Regions from separate parts of the Homo sapiens genome. Here region 1 is linked to region 2. The links are contacts of gene promoters, found by promoter capture Hi-C in human tissues and cell types (Jung and others, 2019). All regions are on one chromosome and are shown on one strand. The core of a region is centred on a gene start or on the middle of the fragment in contact, and the rest is flanking DNA. Distances in the headings are between cores, read along the strand shown.

Region 1 (5,993 bases), core at 1,878-4,377, 340 kb after region 2:
ATTGTGTTCATGGACAGGAAAAGGCAATACAAGGGAAAGATATCATTTCTCCCCAAGCTAGTCTGCAAAATAAATAAAGTGAAACATTTTTGTTGTTGTTGTTGTTGCTGTTGTTTTTTTAAAGACAAAGAGGCTCGCACTGTTGCCCAGGCTGGAGTGCAGTGGCATGATCATAGCCTCAACTTCTTGGGCTCAAGCGATCCTCCTGACTCAGCCTCCCAAATAGCTGAGGCACATGCCACCATGCTTGGCTAATGCTTTCTATTTATTTATTTTTTGTACAGACAAGTTCTCCCCATCTTGCCCAGGCTGGTCTTGAACTCTTGGGCTCAAGCAATTTTTCTGCCTTGGCCTCCCAAAGTGCTGAGATTACAGGCATGAGCTACTGCACCCAGGCTGCACAAATCTTGTGTATAACTTGATACAATTTTATGTCTCAATACACTTCTGTGATTACCAGCCAGATCAAGATATGTAACATTTCCTGCATCCAAGAAGGTTTCTTCATGCCCCTGCTCCCCACCCTCCCTGACAACCAGGAGATTCCCTTATGATACCTCTCACTACAGTTTTTTATCTTCATATAAATGAAATCAATCATGATATACTCTGTCTGGCTTCTTTACCTCAACTTATGTATATAGGATTCATCCATATTGTTTGGTATAGTAGTAGTACATTCTTATTCATTGCTATGTAATTTTTTTATCCAATTTGAGGACATTTAGATTATTTCCAGTTTTTGCTACTGTGGATAATGCTGCGATGAATATTCTTGTATATGATCATAAATACTCAGGTATATGCCCAGTGGTACAATTATTGGGCAGTATGTTATGTGTATAACTAGCTTTAGTAGATAGTGTCTGATATAGTTTGGGTATGTGCCCTCACCCAAACCTCATGTCAAATTATAATACCCAATGTTGGAGGTTGGGCCTGACGGGAGGTAATTGGATCATGGGAGTGGGTTTCTTATGAATGATTAAGTACCATCCCCCTTGGTACTGTCCTCGCAACAGTGAATGAGTTCTTGGGAAAGCTGGTTGTTTAAAAGTGTGTGGCACCTCCCCCCACCCTACTTGCTCTTGCTCCTGCCACGTAAGATGCCGGCTCTACCTTTGCCTTCTGCTATGATTGGAAGCTTCCTGAGGGCTCCCCAAAAGCAGAAGCTGCTATGCTTCTTGTGCAGTCTGCAGAACCATGAGCCAATTAAACATTTTTTCTTTATAAATTACCCAGTCTCAGGTATTTCTTTATAGCAATGCAAGAACAGACTAATACCGTGTCACACAGTTTTCCAAAATGATCAACTAATTTAAACTCTCATCAACAATATATGAAACATATAGTTGCTCCATATTCTTGTCAATGCTTGGTATTGGAAGTCCTTTAATTTAAGCCATTCTGGTGGTAGTTTTGGAATCTCATAATTTCAATGTCCATGATACAGCTATTTTTTTTTTTTTGAGACAGTCTGACTCTATTGCCCAGGCTGTAGTGCAGTGGTGCCACCTTGCTCACTGCAACCTCCGCCTCCCAGGTTCGAGCAATTTTGTGCCTCAGCCTCCCTAGTAGCTGGGATTACAGGTGCTCACCACCACGCCCAGTTAATTTTTGTATTTTTAGTAGAGATGGGGTTTTGTCATGCTGCCCAGGCTGGTCTCCAACTCCTGGCCTCAAGGGAGCCACCCACCTCAAGCTCCCAAAATGTTGGAATTACAGGCGTGAGCCACTGCGCCTGGCCATGACATAGCTATTAATATAGAACTTTTCATGTTGGACCTATAGGTCAATCTTGGAATTTGCCCTTTCAGAGGCTATTCATATTTATATGCATATTGGTGCATGGCAGGGGCTGGTGTACACACCTTGGTGTATGGCTGAGCCATAACTGGAGCATACTGAGAATAACCCTATTCTAAGTGTGTTTGGAGTCCTAGGCTAAGGAAGCCAGGAGTAGCCAACACTAAGATTCACTCCTTATCTATGAAAGACATCCACACCCCTGCTCCATCTCTTAGAACACAGGCTGTACAGTGGAGCAAGGCCCTTTGTTTTGGGTTAAATGGAGGTTGCTAGAAGGAGGGTGCTAAGTGAAAATGCTATATAGACTACATGCTTTTTTTTATGAACAGTAGTGGTTCTCCAGGCCACCCCACCACCACTGGACCACCCCTGTATGTAAGTCCTGAATAAACCTTATATCTCCTTAGCTGGCTCTGCCTCTCCTATAGTACCATCCCAATCGGAATCAATGGGGATCTGGAAGGACAACTGGCCATTTAGATAACAAGTGAAAATTAACCAATGTAATTGGTTACATTGTAACATTATTATTAAAAATATTTTTAAAATTACTATATAACATATTATTATTAAAAAATACATATGAACATTTCAATAAAGGCAGAAAAAGCACTTGATATTGAATGCTTTCCTCTTGATGTTACAACCAAGACAAGGAAGTCCATTATCACTATTTCTATTCAATAGTGGACATACTAGCCAGCAACAAAACTAAAACGTATAAAGATTACAGAGAAGTTAAACCATCTTTATTCACGATTGCAAGATTGTCATCACATAAATTCCAAAAGACTCTACACAGTATTACAAATAATAAGGGAACTTAGCAAGATGCTTGAATGTAACATCAATATGTAAAAATCAATAGCGTTTCTATAGTCTTACAACAAACGAGAATATTTAAAAAATGCTATTTAACATCGCATTCAAAACACTATTCAAAAAGAAATCTAATGAAAGATATGTTTGATCTCTATACTGCAGTCTATCCAAACACAGCTGCATTAAAGTATAAATATGTGTATAATCTACAAAACATTGCCAGGAGAAATTAGAGGCCACTTAAATAAACGGCCACTTAAATGGATTGAAGGACTTAATATTGTTAATATACTAGTTATCCCCAAACAGATCTATAGATCCAATGCAAGCCCAGTACAAGTCCCAGCAGTTTTGTTTTTTTTAAAACTGACAAGCTAATTCCAAAATCACCTAGAAATACAATGGCCTTAGAATAAGCCAAAGCAATCTTGGGAGAATAAAGGACTTCAAGACTTATTATAAAGCTACGTTAATTAACACAGTTTGGTAGTGGTATAAAGTCAGATAAAGACCACTCCCTCCAGCTCCTCAATCTGACCCCACCCCTGGAACGCGCTGGCAGCTTTCCCCATGGGATGTGCATGGGTCAAAGGGCGCTGAGGGAGGACCTGAACGACTGGGTTGGGAAACAAAGCGGCCCTGAGATCACTTCAGGCCACCTTCCGCCCCTCAGTGCTTTCGTATAGAAAAGGTTTTCCTTCTTGATCTGGGAAGCCCACTAAGAAGAAAGCCTGGGCTGTGGAGTTATGAGGAAGGGAATGAATAGTACGCGGGCGCCGGGCGCGTCTCCCCGGGCACCAGAAGGCTTTTAGCCGCTGCTAGGTCAGAACGACTTCTAGCGAGTCCCAGCCCTTTTCCATTCCCAGCGCAATGATCGCGGGAATCCAGGCGCCATCCAGGCCCCTCTGTTCACTGAAAAGACCACGCAGCCGCCAGTGACATCACGGAGACGAAAGCCATGATAAAACCCAGGGAAAACGGAGCTCGAAGTAGCTTGTGTTTTATATATATATATATATATATATATATATATTTTTTTTTTTTTTTTTTTTTTTTTTTTTTTTTGAGACGGAGTCTTGCTCTGTCGCCCAGGCTGGAGTACAGTGGTCCGATCTCGGCTTACTGCAACCTCTGCCGCCCGGGTTCAAGGGATTCTCCTGCCTCATCCTCCCGAGTAGCTGGGATTACAGGCGCGTGCCACCACGCCCGGCTAGTTTTTATATTTTTAGTAGACGGGGTTTCAGCATCTTGGCCAGGCTGGTCTTGAATTCCTGACCTCGTGATCCACCCGTCTCGGCCTCCCAAAGTGCTGGGATTACAGGTGTGAGCCACCACGCTCGGCCTGTAGCTTGTGTTATTAACGGACAAGGAAACGCCCCTGCGCGTACACGTTCTTGAGGGATAACAGTATGTTACAAAAGTGCTTCTGAGCTACTACTCCTGGAGGCTCGGTCGGAGTGCCCGCGGACGTGGGCGCGGTGGAAAAGAGGGAGAACCTGTAGGCCCAGGCCTCCGTAAACATGGCTACGATGGGCGGGGACTGGGAGCGCAGGTCCCGGGCCGGGTTGCGGGCTGGGAGGACTCGGTCCTCCACTGTCCCAGCCGGCCACGCGCCCGCGTGTCGCCTCCCGTCCCGCTAGCAGCACGCTGCGTGGCTGCTCGTTGGCTGCTTAAGACGGAAGCTCGGTTGATGTTTCTGCAGAAGTTTTCCCCCTTGGTCGGTGGCGGAGCTGCTGAGCGCGATAGTAGCAGCTCCGGCGGCAGCAACATTGACTACGAGGAATGGCGGCGGCTGCCGCAGGACCTGCAGCATCCCAGAGGTGCGTGTTTTTCCTTCCCTTTGCTATTTATTTTATACCCCTTTCCTTGGTTAGTGGGCCCTGCTGAAGTCGTTGTTTTCCTGACAGGTTTTTCCAGAGCTTCTCAGATGCTCTAATCGACCAGGACCCCCAGGCGGCGTTAGAGGTGGGAGAGCCTTTTCTGCTTCCTCCACTCCCGGCTGACCCGCCTCCTTCCAGCACCGCCTGATTAGGACTCAGGCTCTAGTGATGCTGCGTCTCAGCCCCAGTATTGAGATTCTCGGTCTCCTTTCTCTCTCTCACGGTAGCCGCGTTACCTCAGACTCCTGTCTTGCCCTTTCCACTTCCAGACTCTTGCATTCCTGAAGCTTCTGAGAAAAACTTCCTCTATTTATTGGGAGCATGGTTGGCATCTGCAGTTGGGCTGAAAGGATTTTTTTTTTTAATGACTAGAAGAGAAAAGTGGACTCTGGGCTCGATGAAAATTAATTTTTTCTTTTGACAATCATTGTTGCCATTCTTATGTAAAAGTGTCGGTATGAAGTCAGTCTACTGGAACAAAAACCTCTTCCCTCACGTCCCGGAAACTTTCCAGATGTCTTGTCATAGTTCATTATTCACTCATTTGTTTATTTATCAAAAAATTTTTTAGGAGTTGCTGTGTGCAAAGGCGCTCATTGCTATGGGTTAGTCTTAGTTATATACTTAGCTAACCTAGAGATCACTGCTTGTAGGTGTGCAGTGAAGACAAACTATAAAGCTGTAAAGGAATGTAAAAGAGCAAGAGTTGATAAGAGTTGAAGAAGAGACTAAGCTAAAGATAAATGATGCTGTGGGTCACAGAATTTTAACAGGAGATCTTTTTTGTTTTTTGTTTTGTTTGTTTCTTTTTGCTTTAAAGCACAGAAAAAAAGGAAACCCTGTTTTGTTGTTATGATCTAACATAAGTAAGGTTAACAATTTGAGGCAAGACAGCGTCTTTTCTAGCTATGGCTTTTATAAGAAATGTGCCACAGGGTACTAGAGGCTCTGTTAAGGTGATATTTGAGCAGAGACCTGAAGGAACAAGAGAATTAGCTTGGAACCTCTGGGGAAAGAGCATTCCAGTCAGGACCAAGAGCCAGTGCAGAGATCCTGAAGTAGGAATGAAGTGGGCCTGTGTATGGAGCAGCAAAAAGGCCCTTTTTTATTAGAGGGCCCATTTGATTAGGAGGTAAGGTTGGACAGGAAACTAGGAGCCAGGTCCTGTAAGGCCTTTTGGGGTCCAGGTATGTTTTTTGAATCTAAATATATAGACCTTTAGATACCAGCAATAAGTCTTCTGGGATCAGTTTTGGGATAATGTTACAGGAAGCAGTGAGAATTTTTCTCCATAATTCCTTATATTAGATAGCTATTACTTTGAATTTACATTTCTTAATTGTCATGTTAGGCCTAGTGCTTCCTTTGGAAATCTAGTTTATATAAAAGTTGCTTTTAGGCTGGGCGCAGTGGCTCATGTCTGTAATCCCAGCACTTTGGGAGGCCAAGTGGGGCGGATCGCTTGAGGTTAGGAGTTGGAGA
Region 2 (6,522 bases), core at 3,595-6,094:
CTGTGATATCAAATGTTTTTAAACCTTCGATATTTGACAAACTTTCTAAAATCAAATTATAAATTAAGTCTTTTTTTGATCTAATTAATCCTTTAAGATATTGGTTTCCCTAAAGTCCAAAAATGACATAATTTGGCTTATTTGGTATAAAAATTACACAGGAAGCATTGTCAAATATGAAATGGTGTGTGGTTACTCCCATACCATTACTATCTGCCTAAGTGATTTCTTCTTAATTCCTGAATCAATAGCATTTCTGATGTTAGAATTATAAGGCTTTTGTTTAAGGATTAATTTACATCCCCATTGCTCTTATAGATAGGATCTCTGATGTTAGAATAATAAGAAATTTGTTTAAGAATTGCTTAATATGGTTTTCAGAGCCTGAATTTCAGTGGAATAGCTGATGCCAACCGGTTTGAAGATGCTGGGCAACATGATGAAACCCCTTCTTTACAAAAATACAAATAATAATAATAAGATTAAAATAAAAATTAGAAATCCTAGAAATTGTTCAGAAAGCAAGCTTTTTAATTTGATCGCCATTTTTTTTTTTCAACAGTTTCTCACTCTGTCACCCAGGCTGGAATGCAGTGGTGAATCACAGCTCAGTACAACCTTGACCTCCCAGGCTGAAGTGGTCTTCCCATTTCAGCCTCCAAAGTAGCTGGGACCAGAGGCACACAGAACCACACCTGGCTAATTTTTTTATTTGTAGAGGTGAGGTCTTGCCATGTTGCCTAGGCTGGTCTCAAACTCCTGAGTTCAAGCAATCTTCCCACCTTGGCTCCCTAAAGTGCTGGGATTACAGGTGTGAGCCACAGCGCCTGGCTTTTTATCACTTTTTTACTTTAGAAAAGTTTTTATTTTTCCTTTTAAAAATGACAAAGCAAAGACAATCAATAGCTGAGAGGTTCTAGCTAATCAATGAAGAATGAGTAATAAAATATCACCATTTTGCCACACCTAGTGAAAAAATGGATCTAGGCAATGAAGAGCTTCTAATATTTTAAAAGACATAACTTTTAAGAGACTCCCATAAGCAAAGTACACATAACCACAGAGCATAACCACAGCTATGAAGTAGTTTTGCCAAAAACAATTTAAACCTGAATTTGATCAAGTTTCTAGACCAGTTTACAGGAGATACAGGGAACAAAGGACACATTATATACCACAAGTCTAGAAAAATCTTAACTGTGTGAAACTCCTCAGGGCTAAGGATCCAGTTTCTTCAACAAATACATTGCAAGGAAAAAAAAAGAAGAAAAGGAGAATCTAAAGATTAAAATAAACCAACAATATAACAACCAATTGCAATCTATGTACTTTATTTGAATCCTGATATTAACAAACAAAATGCCACAAAAAAGAGAAAAAAAATCTGACACAGGGAAATTTGTTTTTTTTTTTTTTTTTTTTTGAGACAGAGTCTCGCTCTGTTGGCCAGGCTGGAGTGCAGTGGCCCCTGATCTCAGCTCACTGCAAACTCTGCCTCCCAGGTTCACACCATTCTCCTGCCTCAGCCTCCCAAGTAGCTGGGACTACAGGCGCCTGCCACCACGCCCGGCTAATTTTTTTGTATTTTTTTAGAAGAGATGGGGTTTCACCGTGTTAGCCAGGATGGTCTCGATCTCCTGACCTCGTGATCCACCCACCTCGGCTCCCAAAGTGATGGGATTACAGGCGTGAGCCACTGCGCCCGGCATCACAGGGAAATTTGAACACTGACTGGACATTAGATAATATTAAAAAGCTGTAATTTTCTTAAGAGATAAAGTCTCACTGTTTTTTGTTTTGTTTTTGTTTTTGAGATAGCATGTTGCTCTGTCACCCAGGCTGGGGTGAGGTGGCACCATAGCTCACTGCAGCCTCTACTTCCCAGGTTCAAGTGAGTCTCATGTCTCAGCCTCCTGAGTAGCTGGGATTACAGGTGCGTGCCACTGTGCTTGGCTAATTTTTGCATTTTTAGCAGAGATAGGGTTTCACCGTGTTGACTAGGGTGGTCTCAAACTCCTGGCCTCAAGTGATCCACCCGCCTTGGCCTCCCAAGGTGCTGGGGTTACAGGCGTGAGCCACCACGCCCAGCCCGAGTTCTAAATGTCTAAGTTGTTCTGCATAGTCAGAATAACTTGGCTGCCATAACAAAAAACCATAGACTGGGCCAGGTGCAGTAGCTCACACCTGTAATCCCAGGATTTTAGGAGGCTGGGAGTTTGAGACCAGCCTAGTCAACATAGTGAGACCCCCATCTCTATTTAAAAAAAAATAAAAGCCAGGTGTGGTGGCTCATGCCTGTAATCCCAGGACTTTGGGAGGCTGAGGTGGGCAGATCACAAGGTCAAGAGATTGAGACCATCTGGCCAACATGGTGAAACCCCATCTCTACTAAAAATACAAAAATTAGCTGGGCGTGGTGGTGTGCACCTGTAGTCCCAGCTACTTGGGAGGATGAGGCAGGAGAATTGCTTGAATCCGGGAGACAGAAGTTGCAGTGAGCCAAGATCAGGCCACTGCACTCCAGCCTGGTGACAGAGCGAGACTCCACCTCAAAAAACAAAAAAACAAAAAAACAAAAAACCACCAGCTGGGTGGCCTAAACAACAGAAATTTGTTTCTTAGCCTCTTGCGAGATTGGGAAGTCTAACATCAAGGTGGCAGCAATGTAGGTTTCAGTCTGATACCTCTTCTCTTGGCTTGTAGGTGGCCACCATCTCACAGTGTACTCACGTAACCTCTTCTTTGTTTGGGCAGGGACAGTGAGCAAGATCTCTGGTGCCTTTTTAGAAAGGCACTAATCCTATTATGTCAGGGCTCTACTCTTACGACCTCATCTGACCTTAATCACCTTAAAGGCCCTATCTCCAATACAGACACATGTATTGGAGGGGTTAGGGCTTCAATATATGAATTTTAAAAATAAATATTAGTAATATGCACATGATTATGAATATAAACAATTCAGTCCATAGCAGTAAGACTACTTTTTTTTTTTTTTGAGACGGAGTTTCACTCTTGTTGCCCAGGCTGGAGTGCAATGGTGCAATCTTGGCTCACTGCCACCTCTGTCTCCTGGGTTCAAGCGATTCTCCTGCCTCAGCCTCCGAGTAGCTAGGATTACAAGCATGAGCCACCACGCCCAGCTAATTTTGTATTTTTAGTAGAGATGGGGTTTCTCCATGTTGGTCAGGCTGGTTTCGAACTCCTGACCTCAGGTGATCCACCTGGCTCGGCCTCCCAAAGTGCTAGGATTACAGGCGTGAACCACCACGCCCGACTAAGACTAATTTTTTAAGGAGAATAAAGCTTTATATATAATACTCAAGTTATATAGCTGAAAGCACAAATCAGAATAAATAATTAAAGAACTTTTTGGATAACTTAGGAGAATGACTTTATGTAGACCCTTTGAAACTTTTCCCCTACTGGAACATAAGCTCCATGTGGGCAAAGGTTTTTGTCTTTTCTGTTCATTGCTAAATCCTCATGACTAGAATAGTGAATAGCACATAACTGGTGTTCACTATTTATTGAATACATGATTGAAGGTTTTTTCTTTTTTGGAGCAGGGTGGCCCTATATCAGAGCTTAGGAGCCACAGATCATTAAAGCCATTGCCTTAATTGAGTCTTGGCTCTATCACTTACTGTTTTTTACCTTGGAGTAGTTACTTTAGCTCTGTGTGCCTTAATTTTCTCCTCTGCAAAATAAGTATTTTAAGGTTGTAAAAATTAAATGAATTAATAGGGTAAAACCATTTAGAACAGTATTTAGTACATAGTACATAGAAGTAGGTACCTTGAAGTTGGCTATAAACGTTAGATATTATTTTGCATATATAGCTAATTCTCCTATCTATGTATGTGATTATAATCTAAGAAAATACTCTGTAAAGTCAGTAATATGGTACATTTTTTGCCTTTTCTTTCAGGAAGAAAAATTGAGGCATGGAGATAGAAAGACTGTAAATTGCGATAGCCAAGGGCTGGATCCCACTGGATTAGTCAAAGTAGGACAATATGCTTGCATTTTCCTGCAATTGTTTATTAACTGGAGTTTTCATTCTTCACTTAATCAGTGGTTCATAAGCTATGAATCTAGGTTGAGCCCCTACATTCCCATGTGCAAAGAACATTATAAAATCACTAACATGTGGAAATACACGGTCTCCTAACTTTTGGGGCTGTTACTACTTTTAAAATATAAATTTATTTGTATTATCCTTTAGTCATTAGGTATTTTCTGAAGCAATGGAAGCTGAAAGTATAGAAATTACACGCAGAATCTTCTACATTTGTGGATGATGTAAAAGGAGTCTTTATTTTTTTTAAATATTGGAAAACAGTGCTTTACGGGCTTCTAATACATAAGGAAATTATTGTAATTTCACATGCAATGTGTTCTAAATCTTGATCTCTTAATCAGAATCGTAAAGAATCTCTCTTCTAGGTTTGCAGTTAACGGTGAAAACCAAAAACTCCACATTTGGCTGGATAGTGAGTGGAGGGGGTTGGAGGCTGCCGCAAGGTAAACTACAACTCCCAGGATTCTTTGGTGGGCGCTCTGGGAGTTGTAGTTTAGTCCCACCTTGGCCCCTCCCTCCCTCCCTCCCTCCCACCATCTCCATCCCCGCTCTGGGCTCACGCTCTGGATAAGGACGGCGCGGGGGCGGTTGTCTGATGACAATTTCATTCTCGTTTTGTCATTTTTCTCATTTAGCTCATTTTTGTCATTTTAGTCCATTGTTAGGCATGCTCGAGGACAACTCCTCCGGAGAGCGGTAGTGGCGGAGGAGGGGCCGGGAGCGTGCGTTAACCCGGAAGAAGTGAACCAGGAAGTGAACGTGATCTCGGGTTTGTCGGGCTGAAATGTGGCGGGTCTCGGAAGGTTCCGACCTCAGTAAAGAGAGCTAACGTGTATTCTTCTTTTTCTTAGGTACTCACAGTTCTTTCCTGATCTTCCCCGCCGCCTCCTGTATTGCCTCTTTATGGAATCACTCCATATACTGAGTTACACAGCATGGTTTGCCCGTGCTGCTGCCCCGCGGGCTGTCGCTTCTGACCTGCCTACACTCAGAACTTTCCCCAAAGCATCAGAGTAATACTGTTACTGTGATGGGTAATGGAGAAGTCGTGCTGTTCTCAGGTGTAGTTAACCTTGGAGAGTAAACATCTTGTTTTGTTTTGTTTTCCTTAATGTTGAGATTCATGACCTTGAAAATTATGCATTCTACTACTGTTCCTAAAATGGAAATTTTAGCAATAAGTATTCGTACAAACATATATTTGTCATCCTTTTATTCTGTCTGTTAGCAAATGGATACACTTTCTCTAACGTGCTTGAAATACGGGGGTGGTGGAGTGTAACGTTTGTGACAGCTGGCCATTGGTGCTTTCTTCAACAGTTCTTTTAATAATGTGATGCAGTATCCTAAAATCTATCAGTAGAACTCTGGAAACTGAATATTTTAAAGACCATTCTGACTATTTTATTTCCTAGGTGATAATGCTAAGTTAACAGACTTATAGTGAACAAATGAGCTAATATATCAATGCACCTCCTAGCATAGTAGGATCACTGGAGACAGTAAAGTTTGATTTTGATAAATGTTGATCCTTCTTTTTTTGAGTTGAGTCTCACTGTGTTGCCCAGGCTGGCCTTGAACTCCTTGGCTCAAGTGATCCTCCTGCCTCAGTCTCCTGGGTAGCTGGGACAATAGGTGCATGCTACTGTGCGTGGCTTGACCCTTATTTCAACTTTGAACCTTAGAGTTTTCTTAGAACACTTTATATTCTCCCTTTCTTACTCAGTAAGACCATTGTGTACTTTTGTTAGCTCTTGATTATCTCTGTTGGAGGGGAGGAGAACAGAAAATTATTGTACACAGCCAATTTCACCTAACCTGTAATTTTTTAAACTAATCTTTTTTTATGATTAGGAAAGTATTCCATGCTACATGTGCAAGAAACTTGGAAAACACTGAAAAGTAGAAAAAATAGCAAGCAAAAGGTATTCATAATCTCACAACTAGAGATCATTTTATTAACATTTTGGTATGTTTCTTTTTTTTTTTTTTTTTTTGAGACAGCGTGTTGCTTTGTCGCCCACGCTGGTTGCAGTGGTGCGATCTCAGTTCACTGCAACCTTCGCCTCCCAGGTTCAAGCGATTATCCTGCCTCAGCTTCCCGAGCAGCTAGGACTACAGGTGTGTGCCATCACGCTCAGCTAATTTTTTTGGTATTTTTAGTAGAGATGGGGTTTTCCCATGTTGGCCAGGCTGGTCTCGAACTCCTGACCTCAGATGATCTGCCCGCCTCGGCCTCCCAAAGTGGTAGGATTACAGGCGTGAGCCACTGTGCTCGGCACATTTTGGTATGTTTCTTATTTAACTTTCTTTTTAAAAAATACTCTATGTGCTTTTTTTTTTTTACATGTATACCTTATATTGTAGAATATTTTTTAAATGTAATTGAGATTCTATTTTGTTCCTTGCCTTTCTTGCTTAATATAATTGTCACCATT

The links. The method cuts DNA at HindIII sites, captures the fragments that hold promoters and counts their contacts. A contact is called where the count stands out against the background at its distance.
Region 1: a fragment that was not itself captured here is called in contact with the fragment with the promoter of MTRF1 in region 2 in 1 of the 25 tissues and cell types used here (aorta).

The regions. Positions count from the first base shown.
Region 1 is chr13:40,920,077-40,926,069 of GRCh38, reverse strand. It overlaps the pseudogene TPTE2P5 and the pseudogene SUGT1P3. Among named protein-coding and RNA genes, the nearest start is that of ELF1, 96 kb to the left of the region's middle. RefSeq lists a silencer at 1,863-2,157 and enhancers at 4,068-4,117, 3,761-4,347. The HindIII fragment of the contact is 5,567 bases long and covers 344-5,910 here.
Region 2 is chr13:41,261,898-41,268,419 of GRCh38, reverse strand. MTRF1 (mitochondrial translation release factor 1) reads left to right here and starts at 4,844. Exons shown (of 10, transcript NM_004294.4): 1 at 4,844-4,935. RefSeq lists a silencer at 4,549-4,638 and an enhancer at 4,926-5,426. The HindIII fragment of the contact is 6,309 bases long and covers 1,917-6,522 here.